2 separate regions of the Homo sapiens genome follow, and region 1 is linked to region 2. The links are contacts of gene promoters, found by promoter capture Hi-C in blood cells and fetal thymus (Javierre and others, 2016). All regions are on one chromosome and are shown on one strand. Each heading gives the region's core, a stretch centred on a gene start or on the middle of the fragment in contact. The rest is flanking DNA. Distances are from core to core; before and after follow the strand shown. Region 1 overlaps LOC105377727 (a long non-coding RNA gene). Region 2 holds the start of NEURL1B (neuralized E3 ubiquitin protein ligase 1B).

The links. Contacts are between HindIII fragments. The CHiCAGO score rates a contact against its expected background, and 5 or more counts as called.
Region 1: a contact is called between a fragment that was not itself captured here and the fragment with the promoter of NEURL1B in region 2, in 1 of 17 cell types (endothelial precursors). The highest score is 5.2, in endothelial precursors.

What each region holds. Positions count from the first base shown.
Region 1 is chr5:172,526,106-172,529,186 of GRCh38, forward strand. All of the region lies in intron 1 of LOC105377727 (a long non-coding RNA gene), which reads left to right. Among named protein-coding and RNA genes, the nearest start is that of LINC01944, 31 kb to the right of the region's middle. The HindIII fragment of the contact is 2,092 bases long and covers 643-2,734 here.
Region 2 is chr5:172,639,707-172,642,886 of GRCh38, forward strand. NEURL1B (neuralized E3 ubiquitin protein ligase 1B) reads left to right here and starts at 1,557. Exons shown (of 5, transcript NM_001142651.3): 1 at 1,557-1,731. The coding sequence starts at 1,701. RefSeq lists a silencer at 1,319-1,608. The HindIII fragment of the contact is 2,251 bases long and covers 265-2,515 here.

The DNA.
Region 1 (3,081 bases), core at 439-2,938, 110 kb before region 2:
CAGCCAGGCCAGGGCAGATAAGAGGAATTTGGTGAACAGACTGGGGGCTCCACTTTGGGGCTGCTGCTTCCCGGTCCTGTGGTCCTCTCTGCGTGGCTGAGAACTCTCCTGTCTTCCTCGGTGGCTGCTCTGCTCCCTGGTAGTGAAGGAATCAGGGGTGTGTTCCCGCTGGGGCCACCTCTGTCTATGGCTTTAACCATCTCTATCTATGGGGCCATCTCAATCTATGTATGGCCTTAACCATGACCATCTCTATCTATGGGGCCATTTCTATCGATGGCCTTAACCATCTCTATCTGTGGGGCCATCTCTATCTATGGGGCCATCTCTATCCATGGCCTTAACCATCTCTATCTATGGGGCCATCTCTATCCATGGCCTTAACCATCTCTATCTGTGGGGCCATCTCGATCTATGGCCTTAACCATCTCTATCTGTGGGGCCATCTCTATCCATGGCCTTAAACATCTCTATCTATGGGGCCATCTCTATCTATGGCCTTAACCATCTCTACCTATGGGGCCCCATCTCGATCTATGGCCTTAACCTGAAGCCTCCCCTGTTCCTTGTGCTCAGCAGGGCTGCTCCCTTTTCCTGGTGAAGTCTTACATAATACTAGCTCATACGGACACAGTGGTTTCAAGCTTACAGTGTGTGGGGTTTCTTTTGTTCCTGGTTTCCATGATTCCTCCCAAGAGCCACACGAAGTGGTTATGATTCTTGCCCTTATTTTTCTCAATACAGTAACTGAGGCTCAGAGAGAGGAAATGCTTGGCCTAGTCCCACTGCAGGTGAGCAGTAGGGCAGGTGGGATTTGAACTTACACCTTCTGTTTTAAAACGTACCCAGGATTTGTCTAAATTAGGTATGGTAAGACCCACGACTGTCACGAAGGACGAAGTGTTTATACTTACACAACTTCCAGCAGGGCACCGGAGTACCTATCTCTCCGCCCCTTCCTCCACACGGGATATTATAAATTGTCTTAATTTGCAAAAGCAATTGTTTAAAGCATTCTAGGTCCCTAGAAACAGGAGGCATCGCACGCCGTGCAAGGCCACATGGGGAAGCGCCAAGGTTCAGCAGGAGGTAGAAGGAGTGAGGGAAGGGGTTGTCCAAAAGTATTGATTGTGGTTTCCATGGGAAAAAATGGGTGAGACAGGTTAAGCAGGTTTAGGACTGGCCGGTTTGAATAATTTCAGTGGGCTCCCAGGTGTAGGGACTGCCTCTCATAGTCTGATACTCGGCCCTGGATTGATTAGGGCAGGAGGATATGGGAAGAAGGGGCTTGATATGGGAAGAGTTTGATGGGTAGTTGGAAAAAAGATAAAGTCCAGTTGGGCTAAATTGATTGACATGCATATGGAAGGGACGCTTGTAAGGAAGGCACACTTGTTTGCTATTTCTAAAAACTGGCTAGCCCTGGGAAGGGCAGTCTCTCCTCCCTCAGTGGGGCCACAGATGCCAGAGCATCAAGCATACAGAAAATAAGAAAATACACACCTCCCAACTCTGTGGTGCTGGGCTGAACCTGTCTCAGGTCAGCCTGTGCACTTTTCTGCTCCCCACACCCATTCTGTGTGTCTGGGATAGCTTTCCTAGAGAGAAACCTTCTCTCCAAATGACCTCCACATATTGAGAGTCTCCTGGGGTGTAACGCATCAGTGTGCTATTTTGCTTCATCCTGGTAATGACTCTGGAAGGAAGCAGTCATTATTCCTGTTTTTCCGGTGAGTTCTGAAGAGGGGAAGTGGTTGGATCCAGGGCACGCAACTGAGCTGGACCAGGTGTCCTCACTCCAGGGCTTCTGCTCAAAGAGAAGGAGCTTGCAACGAATGCTTGTTTCATATGGAATAGGAAAGAGGGGAAGGTATTTAAGAAAGTTACCCTGCACATTTATCACACCTGCTGGTAGAGGAGCTGGTTTTAGCTGATGGAACTTCTTGCTGTTTGGCTTTGAGGTTCTCACAAAAGTTTGTAGAGAGGCTGCTTGGTTTGTCCCTGGTCTTGTCCACTCCTCCAGCCCTGTCCCCCCTCAAGCCCATGCCTGATATCTTCCCTTTCTCCTAAATTTATCTGTCCAGTGTTCTGCCATTTCAGGAGCTTGTGTCAGTAGGAGCCAACTGATGTGAGGTTGTTTGCAAGGAACAGAAACCAAACTCAAATGGGATTACGCCAAAAGATATTATTGGCTCCTCATAGCCAGTCTGAGGAAAGGCTGGGAATGGAGCTGGTCTTAGGGCCTCATGTGCCACTCGCTACTCCCAGCTTTGCCCTTTTCTCTGGCTTTGGCTCTAGCTCTGGGCTCTGTGGCTTCATACCCTTCCAGGTCCATGGCCCAAGGGACAAGAAGAGTTTCTCCTGCAAATCTTGTCAGAAAAAAAATCCCAGAGAAGATCTCTGATTGGCCCGCTTTGGGTCACATGTCCTTCTCTGGACCAGTCAGTGGCCAGGGGAATGGAATGCTAAGATTGGTCCAGACTGAATCACGTGCTGCCTTTATGGGAAACGGGGCTAAGATTTGTTACCAGGAGAAGAAGTTCCTGGGGGAATATTTTGGACAATTGAAGAAAATATGCTTTTGACTGTCTTGTCAAGTAACATGTTCACACTTTCACAAGGGACTTCTGAGGATAGAATGCCCTAATGCAAGGAGATGGAATGGTGGGAATTTCAGGCACTATGACAGGAATTTAATGGAAATATTTTTGGCTTAGGAGAAACTTGGCTTCTAAGCTTGAAAATGACTCCATCTTTTTTTTTTTTTTTTTTTTTTTTTTTGCCAGCAGTGCCCCACCAGCAAATTCCCAGAGTGAAAACTAGTATGTATATACTGTATTTTAGAATGGTGTGGGAGTTTATGTTTCTGAAATTAGAATGCATCTTATAATTGAAGTGCATATTTAATGTGTTACCAGGCAATAGACTGTATTAGTTAAAAATGAGAGATCTTTCATTGGATGAATTTAGTTCAAATCTTGGTTCTACCAGTTCCAAGCTGTAGAAAAGTTAAATCAAATGACTTAACTTTGCAGCAACCTCCATTTTGTGTATGCAACATGGTGCTGGTAATAATATCTA
Region 2 (3,180 bases), core at 307-2,806:
GGTAGGCAGAGGTTGCAGTGAGCCAAGATTGTGCCATTCCACTCCAGCCTGGGTGACAGAGTGAGACTCTGTCTCAAAAAAAAAAAGAAAAAAAAAAAGGATCACGCTAACGGACCTTTCTCAAACAGAACTTTGGGGTTAAAAATTAAGTCACTGGGCGAGCACCTGTAATATGAGAAATTAGTAACTCAAATGCAAGGCAATCTTATGTTCAGACATATGACGTCAGGGGGGAGTGGGGAATCAAGGTTTCCCGGAAGTGGAAGCTTGGAGCTGGCCTTAAAGACCCTAGAACCCTCTGGGATGGGTCATGTACTGTAAGCAGAAGGCACCGGAGATGCAGAAGGCTGTCTCCTGAATACCCCGCTTTTATTCGCATAGCTTCAGGCTAGCTTTGCCCTGTACCATTGGAAGATCTTGGGCACCTCTCTTCCACTCTCAGAGCCTCAATTTCCCTATCTGTGAAATGGAAGTAATAATACATATTTCATAAAGTCTCAAGGGATACAAGAGCATGAAAAATAGAATTGAAAAAAACAGCTCATTTGGAATCGGGTCTTCTTGGGGAAGTCATTGCACTTCCTGGGCCTCAGCGTTCCAGCCTGTGAAATGGAGCTCGAGAAGGGCACAGCTGCACTTCCCACTGAGTGTGGTCCAGGTGCCTGAATGAGGAATGCCTGTTACTGCCTCTGCCAGGAACACTCTACCTATCTCTTCTCATGGCCGACGCCTTCTAGTCCATCAGATGGAGCTTATGTGCCCCCACCCCAGATTCTCCCTATGCCCCCAAACAATGTCATCTCCTCACTCTACTGGGATCTGTTTTATTTTCTTCCTGGCTTTGATTATTATATAATGTGATCGTAATTGCTTGTTATTTCTATCTTCAGCATGCCATCTCCAGGGCAGTGGGGACCTTGTCTGTATCTACCCGGCCCAGCACAGTGCCTGGTGCATAGACTGTGCTCAATAAATATTTTAGTGAATGAGCGAATAAATTAATGAATGTGGGTTCCCTCTTCCCAATCTTTGGACACTGGGTTTCTTCTATTCCTCGGTACCTGGCCTAGGGGATAGAAAAGACTCCACCCAAACCCGGGAACCCTGGGTGTACTGTCTCCAAGCCCTTTACATGGTCCCAGGGGCCCGTCTGCCTCTGTGTAAGTTCCCCCGGGGCCGAAGCACTCTCCAAAGAGGTCTGCCGGGGCTAGGACTCGGCCGGCTGGGGCCCCGCGCCTGGAAGAGGGCCTGGCACACAGTGGGCCTTCTCAAAGTGTTAGAACAAATGGGTGACAGGCCAGCAGACTGCCGATCCTGGCACCCGAGGGCACCCAGCTGCCCTGCGCGCCTTCCCGGCCCGGGCGCGGGAGCGGCGAGGGCGGGAGGCTTGGCTGTGCTTCTCCCGCCGCCTGGTGCAAACTTTCAAAAGATGCGGCGGCCGCGGCCCCGCCCCTGCACTGTTGGAGGCGGTGGGAGGCGGGGGCGGAGCCGGCGGGCCCGGGCCGGTGGCTCCGCCTCCTCCTCCCGCAGGCGCCGCCGCCGCCTCCCTCCCGGCTCCCGCCCCAGCTGCCGCCCGCCGGCTCGCCCGTGCAGCTGCGATGCCCCGGAGCGTCGACCCCGGTCCTGGTCCCTGGCCCGCCGCGTAATTAGCCTCCGCGCGCCCAGAGCGCGCCGCCGCCAACGCCGCGCCCGACGCAGCGATGGGCAACACGGTGCACCGGACCCTGCCAGGTACGCCGGGGAGCCCTGCCCGGGAGGCGGGCGCCGGGCTTCTCTCCTCCGGGGGACCCGCTGGGTGACTCTGGAGAGCTACCCCACGGCCCTTGGAGCCCTCGGCTCGCAGCGGGCTGGAGTCTCCGGTACCTCCCGGACCTCAGCTCGGCGCGCGCCCCGCGGCTGGGCTTTGCGCCCCGGGAGGGCGGGTACCGCGTCCTGGTTACCTTGGGGACCCCAGTCCTCATTCTCCCGGCTTTGGCCAGATGCGCAAAAAGGGCCGCTGGGGCGATGCCGCGCGCCCCCTCGCCTTTGTTCCAGCCCGAGGGCGCTGATGAGCAAACTCAAGGCGACCTGGGTGGGGGTGACTGGAGCCGGGCTCGCCAGGGCTTCCGACGGTCAGAAGCCACCCGTGGTGCCAAGACTGCAGCTGCCGAGAGTGAGGGGTGCTCTCAGGGGCACCCCAGTTTCCAGCCTCCCAGCGCCCCCGCGGCACATGCTGCCGTGCTTTGGCCACGTTCCCACGCGCACCCCGGTTGCGCCCCCCTCTGGTGTCCGCTCCACTGGGGACTCCTTCGCCCCCTCGGAGTCGCTGCTGCAGATCGCATCGCCCCCTAGTTAAAATCGCCCCAGAATTTCTGGGACCGGAGTGAGGGGATCCGGAGCAGGTTAACGGGGTAGGAGGAGGCCTTACTGGAAAATACATGGTAATTGTGGGAACAGATCAGCGGTCCCGCGCCCGCGCGTGCCCGTGGAGGTTCAGTGCCCAGCACTTTGCATACCCCAGCTCGGTATGCAAAGAAGCTTCGCGATAAAGATGTGTATCCCAGTTTTACAAATAAAAAAATTGAGTGTCAGAAGAGGTGAAATGACTCACCCAAGGTCACACAGCTAGTAGTGGGAGAATCTGGAGTGGGACCTGTGTCTCTCTGCCCTCCCTCCCCTCACACGCCCAAGTATTTAGAAGTATTTTGTCTTAAGGCTGGGCCTTTGTAGCATCCTTTGGGCAAAAGGTGAGAGGAGTGTGTGTGTGTCTAAAGCACAAAGGCTCGGCTCAATGGGGAAGCAAGTCAGCTGTGAGGTTAATTTAGTGTGAGGTTCTGGAAGAGGGACATATCACCCCATCTCTGCTATAACACTCCCATATAGCTCTCCCTTCTAGGCATTACATGCTCTTAAAGAATAATTTCCCCTGGAGCGGGTTGAAGTGGACAGTGCTGAGCCCAGGATTCCCAGGGTCAGCTTATGGAAGAGGAGCCAACTCCTACTTTACAAGCCTCTGAGCAACTGCACTCAAACGTTCAAATTCCCAGAGAGCTGTAATCATCAGCAGAGTCACCAGCTAGTCAGTGGCAGAGGTGGGATTAGAACCCAGGTCTGCTTACTGGAGGGTGGCCTCTACCTCCTGTGGACAGGGCTATTGCCAGGTTGGGGGAGAACCCACCCGCGGGTCAGGAGATATCTGGG